Regions from separate parts of the Homo sapiens genome. Here region 2 is linked to region 1. Evidence: promoter capture Hi-C in 16 types of primary human blood cells and fetal thymus (Javierre and others, 2016). All regions are on one chromosome and are shown on one strand. The core of a region is centred on a gene start or on the middle of the fragment in contact, and the rest is flanking DNA. Distances in the headings are between cores, read along the strand shown.

The links. The method cuts DNA at HindIII sites, captures the fragments that hold promoters and counts their contacts. A CHiCAGO score of 5 or more calls a contact.
Region 2: a fragment that was not itself captured here is called in contact with the fragment with the promoter of CEP120 in region 1 in 1 of 17 cell types (neutrophils); the score reaches 6.4 in neutrophils.

Annotation. Positions count from the first base shown.
Region 1 is chr5:123,421,377-123,426,313 of GRCh38, reverse strand. It overlaps CEP120 (centrosomal protein 120), which reads left to right and starts at 2,911. Exons shown (of 20, transcript NM_001375405.1): 1 at 2,911-3,364. The coding sequence starts at 3,316. RefSeq lists a silencer at 3,211-3,370 and an enhancer at 2,700-3,645. The HindIII fragment of the contact is 3,797 bases long and covers 1-3,418 here.
Region 2 is chr5:127,012,654-127,017,590 of GRCh38, reverse strand. All of the region lies in intron 1 of MARCHF3 (membrane associated ring-CH-type finger 3), which reads left to right. Among named protein-coding and RNA genes, the nearest start is that of MARCHF3, 15 kb to the left of the region's middle. The HindIII fragment of the contact is 4,406 bases long and covers 1-4,243 here.

The sequences.
Region 1 (4,937 bases), core at 1,662-4,161:
TGCTAGATATCCTAAAGCAAAACAACAAGGTATGCTGATGGACAGTTCCTGGCTCTTTTCACAGCTACTACTTAAAGTCTGAGATTGTTCATATAAAAAATAGTAACTAAGTGGCATTTACTACATTTAAGTCCTGCACTAAAGAACCATGCATACTATCGTTTTATAGCTGAAACTGAGGCTCAAAGAGGGAAAGTGATTTGCTTAAGGTCACCTGACATGCAAATAGCAAAGGTAGGTCCCAAACTCTGATCTTCTGGGGTACTCATTCCATCAGAGGTACTTGGGCCTCTCTTTGTCTATAATGCTAAGTACTGTCTTGCACCACTGATAACATTATACTTCGCTTGTGGTTAATTTGTTTCCTAATCTTTAAGTGTTGTTAATGTGTACATATTTATTAGACTTCTCAACAGAGGATATGTTAAACCACAACATTGGTATTATACCAACAAAATTCAGACTGTGGTAAACTCTGCAGACACGACCAGTTTCTTCAATAAAGAATTTCAAGAAAAAAAAAAGAAGGATTGGGTACCTCCATTAGTCCGTTTTCATACTACTATAAAGAACTGCCCAAGACTGGGTAATTTCAAAAGGAAAGAGGTTTAATTGACTCATAGTTCAGCATGGCTAGGGAGGCCTCAGGAAACTTATGGTCATGGCAGAAGGCAAAGGGGAAGCAAGGCACCTTCCTCACAAGGCAGCAAGAAGGAGAAGAGTGAGTGAGTAAAGGGGGAAGAGCGCTTAATAAAACCGTCAGATCTCCTGAGAACTCACTGACTATCAGGAGAATAGCATGGAGGAAACCACCCCCATGATTCAATTACCTCCATCTGGTCCCTTCCTTGACACTTGGGGGTTGTGGGGATTACAATTCAAAATGAGATTTTGGTGGGGGCACAAAGCCTAACCATATACATTAAAAAAGACAAGAGACATACCAACCATTGTATTTTGGAACTTGTTTGGATCCTGATTTGAAAAAACCGACTGCAAACAAATTATTAGACAATCAGAGAAATTTGAACAGTATATATTTAATGGGATTAAGAAATTTTTGTTAATTATTAAGTGTAATAATGGGATTGTGGTTAAATACTTAATATTTTAAGATTCTTTAAGAAGTCGTTATCTTTTTTTTTTTTTTTTTTTTTGAGACTGAGTCTTTCTCTGTGGCCCAGGCTGGAGCGCTGTGGCATGATACCGGCTCACTGCAACCTCTGCCTCATGATTTCAAGCGATTCTCGTGCCTCAGCCTTCTCGTGCTTCAGCCTCCCAAGTAGCTGGGATTTCTGGCTTGCGCTACCACGTCTGGCTAATTTTTGTATTTTTAGTAGAGACGGAGTTCTGCTATGTTGGCCAGGTTGGTCTCGAACTCCTGACTCAAGTGATCCGCCCACCTCAGCCTCCCAAAGTGCTGGGATTACAGATGTGAGCCACTACCACACCTGGCCAAAAAGTCTTCATCTTTTAGAAGTACGTATCCAAAAAGATGAATTGATGTGATGTTGGGGATTTCTTTAAAAATAACACAACAGATGAAGATGATTGGTCTTAAGTTGATAATCGTTGAAGCTGGGGTCTGGGTAACTGGGGGTTCATTATATCATTCTGCTTTCTTTAAAGTATGTTTGACATCTTCCACAAAAATAATGCATTGTTCAATGATGAATCCAAAGTAGATCATTACTTTGATTTTACATTGAATAGTGCTTCATTTTAAGAATGCCTGTGATAGGACCTGAAAGGGCCTTAGAAGTAATTAGTCCAATCTCTACATATTCCTCCTTTTCTTTTGGGCAGAAAGCAAAGAAGGAAGAATAAAGAAGAGGAAGAAGAAAACAATAGTGATATTATATTATTTGCTCTCAAAATAACTTCTAAATTTCCAAAACAAGGAAGCAATAGAAGAAAAAGAAAACAGCGAGATATTATATTTGCTCTCAAAACAACTTCTCAATTTACAAAACCAGAAAGTAATAGGAGAAGCCGCACTTATGTCCACTACCTAGTGCTATCTCTGCAGCTTTATTTTATTATGATTTACTTTTGTTTTCCGAAGCAGAATTTTTCCCAAACTTAATAGTGTCCACGATCGCTCCAACCAATTCGGTTATTTAAGTTTCAAGCTAGATAACCTCCAAAAGAACTTTGCCTTTGACTTGAATACATGCTTCTTGCAATTTGAGTAGTGTTTAGGAGGCCGTTCCCTTTACAAGTCTTGAACCGTTTCTTAAATCTGAATTTGGGAGACGTTAAGGGGAAAGGGTCGGCAGACAGCACCTCAATGCCTTGTTTATTTTTGGTTTTGAGTTTGCTAATAACTTTGTCATCGGGGGTGGAAGAACCTTTATATTTCATTGCCCACGTGACAGTGTTTTTGTTTTAGGGGTAATTTCTAAGGGACAGGAAATTCTCGGGGAGTTTACGTCAGCTTTAACAAGTACAGTAATTACCGTATTGAAGCTACTTGTTTTCAAAGGTCGGAAATTTGAGGTGCCGCGTGAGCACGATTTAGGGACTTTAGAGTTTAGATTTAAGTCATTATTTTTTTGTGATTTAATTTTTTAAGCAGTGTTGACACTGGGTACGTCAACTAAGCTAGGTTTTTTTGTTTTTTTAATCCCCACTAATATAACTCTCAGGTTGTGGCTGAAGCATAAAGCAGGTAATACGCTACACTCACGCTCCTTAAAGGCTACGCAGCTTCAGGAAGCGTTTACAGCAGTAGTGCGCTTGCGCAGCTGGTCCCACACCAAGTCGCCCGCCTCTCCTCGTCCGGCTAGCAGAGGGCGCTGTGAGGTAATGAAGGCGTCCTCCTTAGGGCTCTGGAACAGAGCGTAAAAGGGCGGGAGGCGAAGCTCGCTGACGGGCGTTCTAGCCTTGACTGCTCTGTCTCTATCACCCGTTGTCCTCCAACCTCCCCTGGGCACTGGGCCTGCGGGCCTGGTTGCTAGGCGGAAGCTGGGCGCGGCGGCGGCCGCTGCGGCCGCCCGGGCGTTTGAAAAGCGGCTACGCAGGCGGCAAAAGGTCCTCGGGTGGCGGGCTTGTCTCTGCTTGCAGACTGGCAGGGCTGCAGCGTGGCTTTTTCCTTGAGTCGGGGCACAGTTAGGATCTGGGCTGGCGGCCCGAGGCAGAGGAGCCGGGCGCGCTGCAGCAGACGGCGGTGGGACCTGGCTGCGGAGCGGGGTCCGGGCATCAGGGACCGGGGGCGGGCAGTGGGGGTCCCGCCGGGGGTCCCGGATTACCCGCGACTCAACTGGACCTCACTTCCCCCCAGCCGCCTTCGCCCCCGGACCGCTCACCGCAACCATGGTCTCCAAATCCGACCAATTGCTCATCGTCGTGTCCATCCTAGAAGGTGAGCAGCCTGAGGCTTGCTTTTGCAACTGCTGCCTCCCGAGTTTTAAAAGCTTAGTGTGGGACCGAGGCCTTGTTAACCTTAAGAACCCTGTCATCTGTGCTTTTGTGGTCCCCACAGACTTGTTCAAAGTTGTACGTAGTGAGGTCTGTTAGGCAATTGATTTAAAAATCTCTCCAGGGATATGAGCGCTATTAGGGATAAGTGATATTTAGCGTGACTAGCCGTAGCCCCAGAGAATCTAGAGAAAACGATTTTCATCCAAAGCAGCACGTCGATGGCTTTTATATATGAGCTGAACGTGGTCCTGAGAAGCGCGTTCTGATCAGCGGTTCCCAATAATAGCACTTGTAAGAGCTTTGACTTGAATACAGGCTTCCTGCGATTCCAGAAGTGTTCCGGAGGCAATTCCCTTTACACGTCTTGCTGGAGGACTCAGGGGACTACAGTTCTTAAGAGGGTGTATTATACATTCCTTAAAAGGTGTGTTTTGGATGAATGACATTGGTTTATTGGGACTCATTGAGTGTCAGACACTGTGCTGGGAATGTAAGAATGAAACAGTCCTGATTCTAAAAAGCTAAGGATGTAGCAAGGAGAGTGTGTCAGCAAATAATTCATCAGGATGTGGAAGACCCTAATGAATGACCACCTCTGTCTAAGGAAACTGCGGAAGTTTCACTAGAGGAGGTGGCATTTTTTGGGGTCCTACAGATGATTAGGAATTTGTCAGGTGAAAAAAGGAAGGGCATTCCAGGCAAAGAGAAGAGCAGGGAGCACTTAAAGTATGGAAAAGCAAGACACGTTTTGCCTTGCTTAATTAAATTCACTCAGTAAACATTGGTTAAATTCAGTGTGGTTGGAGAACAGATTTGCAAGAAAGTGGAGGGCATAGGAGATAACAGGTGAATTGAGGACACTTTACGAATAGTATGTTAAGAAGGAGTCATCTTGAGCCAGAGCAGAAGCCTGGCTGCATTTTTTCCCCCATGGGAGAGTGTTTTATAAAGGCCTGGCACTGTGTGAGGGATGAGAGCAAAGGAAACATTGTAATCCTAATCTTTGAATTTTGGAACAAGAGACTGACCAGAAAAGCCATAAAGATTTGGAGCACTATTAACTGTTAGTTTACTTATTGTTTAAAAACATAGGACTGAAATAACCTTAAAATTTGGTTAACAACAGTTTTTAGACTTATAACTGACCATGCTATGAGGAAACAAATACCTCCATTCCCTCCAAGGATGTAGAGGTCTGTCCACGTGGGGAGATCACAGGACACAATATGTTGGGGTATAATATTTAAAATATGTGATATGTACTGTAAATATAGGTTTGAGGGTAGGGTGGGTGGGATGGCTGAAGTTCTTTAAATAATAAGTGAGCTTTAGATATGTGACAATAGAATTCTATGGACAACCCAGGCCAGTCTGACAACCCAGGACATAAATGCAATTCATTTGGGGAAGCTAGTTTTAGAGCAGCAGAAAATGAGGTCCTGAGAGAGGCCTGTTAGTGCTAATTGGGAGAGCTGTGCGATGTGTGTTAATATTCCTAATACAGAGTTTCAAGT
Region 2 (4,937 bases), core at 791-3,290, 3.6 Mb before region 1:
AGGCTTTGTATTAGATGAGATTGCCCCATGGTAAGCTAATATAAGTGTTCTGAGCATGTTTGAGATAGGCTAAGCTAAACTATGATGTTCTAGGTGTATTAAAGCATTTTGGTATACGATATTTTCAACTTATGTTCTGTTCATAAAGACATATAAACCCCTTGTAAGTTGAGAAGCATCTGTACAAGAGGGAAGTTTGAGTAATACTCAACTTTAGTTTTTTTAATTGATTGCAGTTTTAAGGACACCATTTTTAATTTGACATATCTTCTAAAAATGAAGATACTTATAAGACTAAATTGCAAACTGGGATAATTCATTTTTTTTTATCATACTTTAAGTTCTAGGGTACATGTGCACAACGTGCAGGTTTGTTACATAGGTATACAAGTGCCATGTTGGTTTGCTGCACCCATCAACTCATCATTTACATTAGGTATTTCTCCTAATGCTATCCCTCCCCAGCCCCCCACCACCTGACAGGCCCCAGTGCGTGATGTTCCCCTCCCTGCGTCCAAGTGTTCTCATTGTTCAATTCACACCTAAGAGTGAGAACATGCGGTGTTTGGTTTTCTATCCTTGTGATAGTTTGCTGAGAATGGTGGTTTCCAGCTTCACCCATGTCCCTGCAAAGGACATGAACTCATCCTTTTTTATGGCTGCATAGTATTCCATGGTGTATATGTGCCACATTTTCTTAATCCAGTCTATCATTGATGGACATTTGGGTTGGTGAATAGTGCCTTTCTATTTGCTATTGTGAATAGTGCCGCAATACATATAGGTGTTCATGTGTCTTAGTAGCATGATTTATAATCCTTTGGGTATATACCCAATAATGGGATCACTGGGTCAAATGGTATTTCTAGTTCTAGATCCTTGAGAAATCGCCACACTGTCTTCCACAGTGGTTGAATTAATTTACACTCCCACCAACAGTGTAAAAGCATTCCTATTTCTCCACATCCTCTCCAGCATCTGTTGTTTCCTGCCTTTTTAATGATCTCCATTCTAACTGGCATGAGATGGTATCTCATTGTGGTTTTGATTGCATTTCTCTGATGACCAGTGATGATGAACATTTTTTCATGTGTCTGTTGGCTACATAAATGTCTTCTTTTGAGAAGTATCTGTTCATATCCTTTGCCCACTTTTTGATGAGGTTGTTTTTTTCTTGTAAATTTGTTTAAGTTCTTTGTAGATTCTGGATATTAGTCCTTTGTCAGATGGGTAGATTGCAAAAATTTTCTCCCATTCTGTAGATTGTGCAGTACAAATTCATTTAAAAAATAAATTTTTTTGTGTACAATACACATAATTTTTCATTTGAACTCATAACAGTAGTTCACCCTTGTCTGCAGGGAATGTGTTCTAAGTCCCACAGTGGATACCTGAAACTATGGTTAGTAATAAAAGCTATATGTACTATGTTTTTTTCCTACATGTATATACTTATGGTAAAGTTTAATTTATAAATTAGGCACAGTAGAGATTAACAACAATAACTAATAATAAAAGTAGAACAATTATAACAATATGCCAGCATCACTACTCTTAGGGCCATTATTAAGTAAAGTAAGGGTTCCTTCGATTCTGGCAACAGTTGATCTGATAATGCAGAGGGCTACTAAGTGACTGACAGGCAGGGAATGTAGACAGCATAGACGTGCTGCACAAGCAGAGGATGCATGTCCAAGTAGGATGGAGTGGGACAGCATGAGATTTCATCATCAGAACGGTGCACAGTTTAAAACTTATGAATTCTTTGTTTCTGGAATTTTCCATTTTATATTTTCGGGCCATGGTTGACCAAGGGTAACTGTAACTGCAGAAAGTGAACCCACAAATAAGTGGGGGGATGTACTGCTGTATCCACTAAAATGATTTATTCTTAGAACTATGTTCTTAGTGATTCTAGGTAATCATGAAGGTACAAGTTGAAAAATAGCTTTACCTCAGATTTTAGTTTGGAAGGGGTTGACAGAAATGAAGCAGAATGCTTTCCTCCAAAGTCCTTTTCTATGGCTTTCAGCTTGGGACCTTCTCCACTAAAGTGTGTGCTTTTGTGTTTTTTTCTTTCCCTGTCATTCTGTGGGTGGTGTCATTTGCCAACTAAATTGTGAGGCATTATTTTCTGGGGCTTGCAGTGTGACTTTCCCATTCAACTGAATAAATAATCATTTAACGTTGGCAAGAACTTCACTTTCCCCTCCTCCCTGCTCATCTTCCCTCGACCTTTCCCCAGGTGATCTCAAAAGCTCTGTTGTCTCTTCACATGGTGTCAGCCTAAACCTACTTGACATTGTTTTCTAGTCCTCTGGTGTTCCCTCTACAGAAAAACTTGTTAGAGTAACTTACTATGAAATATACTTCTGAGCTAAACTTCCCATGTCATATTTTCAAAAGCATATCTGAATTTTATGGTGAGTAAAATACATCCGTATTTGAAAGTAATTTCTCAAATTTATTTATTTTTAACTGACATATAATAATTGTACATATTTATGGGGTACATAGTGATGTTTCAGTACATACAATGTGTAGTGATCAGATCAGGGTAATTATCATATCTATCATCTCAAACATTTATCATTTCTTTGTGTTGGGAACATTTAATATATCTTTTGTAGCTATCTGAAACTATATAATATATCATTGTTAACTATAGTCATTCTGCAGTGCTATAAAACACTACAGTGCTATAAAACTAGAACTTGTTCCACCTACATAGCTGGAATTTTATATCCTTTAACCAATTTCTGCCTATCCCCAACTTCCTCCTACCCTTTCTAACCTCTAGCAATCGCTGTTCTGCTTTTTACTTCTGTGAGATCAAGTGTTTTAGCTTCTGTTATGAGTGAGAACATATGGTGTTTAGCTTTCTGTTCCTGGCTTATTTTACTTAACATAATGTCCTCCATTTCCATCCATGTTGCTGTAAAATTACAGAATTTCATTCTTTTTTAAGGCTGGATAGTATTCCATTGTGTATATATACCACATTTTTTAATCCATTCATCCATTGATGGACACTTAGGTTGATTCCATATTTTGGCTATTGTGAATAGTGCTGTAATAAACATGGGGCTGCAGATATCTCTTCAGTATATTAACTTGCTTTCCTTTGGATAAATTCCCAATTGTGGGATTGCTGGATCGTACAGTAGTTCTGTTTTTAGTTTTTTGAGGAATCTCTATACTGCTGTTGATAATGGCTGTACTAGTTTACATTACCACCAGCAGTGTATAAGATTGTCTTTTTGATAGTAGCCATCGTATCTGGGGTGAGTTATCTCATTGTGGTTTTTATTTGCATTTCTCTATCAGCGATGCTGAGCATTTTTCCATATACCTGTTGGCTCATTTTTAAATTGGATTATTTGATTTTTTGCTATTGAGTTGTTTGAGTTCTCTGTATATTCTGGATATTAATCCCTTATCAGATGAATGCTTTGCAAATATTCTATTCTTCAGGTTATTGGTTCACTTGGTTAATTTTTTTCTTTGCTGTGCAGAAGAATTTTAGTTTTATGTAATCCCATTTACTTATTTTTGCATTAGTTGCCTGTATTTTTGAGTTCTTAATCATAAAATCTTTTCTCAGACCAATGTCCTGAAGCATTTCCTCTATGTTTTCTTCCAGTTGTTTTATAGCTTCAGGTCTTACAATTAGGCCTTTAATCCATTTTGAGTAGATTTTTATATAGGGGCAGAGGTAGGATCTAGTTTCATTCTTCTGCATATGGATATCCATTGCTTTTAGCACCATTTATTGAAGAAACTGTTTTTTCCCCAATGGATGTTCTTGGCACCTTTGTCAAAAATCAGTTGGCCTTATATAGATGGATTCATTAATTTCTGGGTTTTCTGTTTTGTTACATTGGTCTCTATGTGAGAGTAATTTTTAATCTAATTCATCCAGATTGTGTTTATGTTATGCATCAGAGACAAGTCAGAAAAAGAAAGGAAGAGGATGTTATGATGTTGTCTGCATCGTACTTCCCTCTTACGGATCCTGGCAGGGATCCCTTTCCTCCTCACTTAATAACTTGGGTAGATTTGGGTGTATAATTGTGAGAACTCATCAGGATCCAGGTGAAAATGAGACCAGTAATTAAAGGGCTGGGTCAATGTATCATTATTATTTAAGTTAAATGGGTACATGGTCTATGTAAGCTCTTGTCAACTGCCTTTGACAGCAGTTTTCATATACAGTAGATTTAGCCCTGTCTTAACGGAAGCTTTTCTTTTCCTTTCCTTTTAATTTTATTGTTGTTCTTGTTGTTGCTTTCTAAGCTATGTGGGTGAAAAACAGCATGAAGTTATAACAAAATGTATAGCAAAAGCAGTAACAATGAGAAAGAGTCCATGATGGATACACACACATTGCTGGAATATTTCTCAAGTATTTTGGGGAGTGGCTGTGAGGCTTCTTTGGCAGAGGAAAAGTGGAACATGTGCTTTTCCATGTGTGAACACTGTGATTTGAAAGGTCCATTATGATTCACTTCCACTAGAAAGCAACTGCTTTCTAGCTGGTGTAGCCACAGAGTTTTGAAAATTCACTTAAATAGGTGTATTGCAGACTCCTGACATCTGTTTTGGAGATTCAGTTGAGTGTTGGGAATTTGCTTGTTCACAAGTGACATGGAATGAGTTATTCTTATGAGAGTGTTGAACTCTATTCATTTCTTTAAGGTTGTGGATTAAGTCTAACAAGAAAAGACTTAAAATTTTGAACAGTCATTTGCTGTGTTACACACACACATAAATTTGCACTGATTGCATTCTTCTTAATTTCAAAAACTATGAATGACAATTTTACTTTGCCTAGTAAATCAACTTTACTGAGGTACCCTCAGGCATATTTTGTTGTATTGTAAGGCTTTCTTGCTAGGTATTTGCAATCTTATTGTGTACTGTTTTTCAGTGAGCTT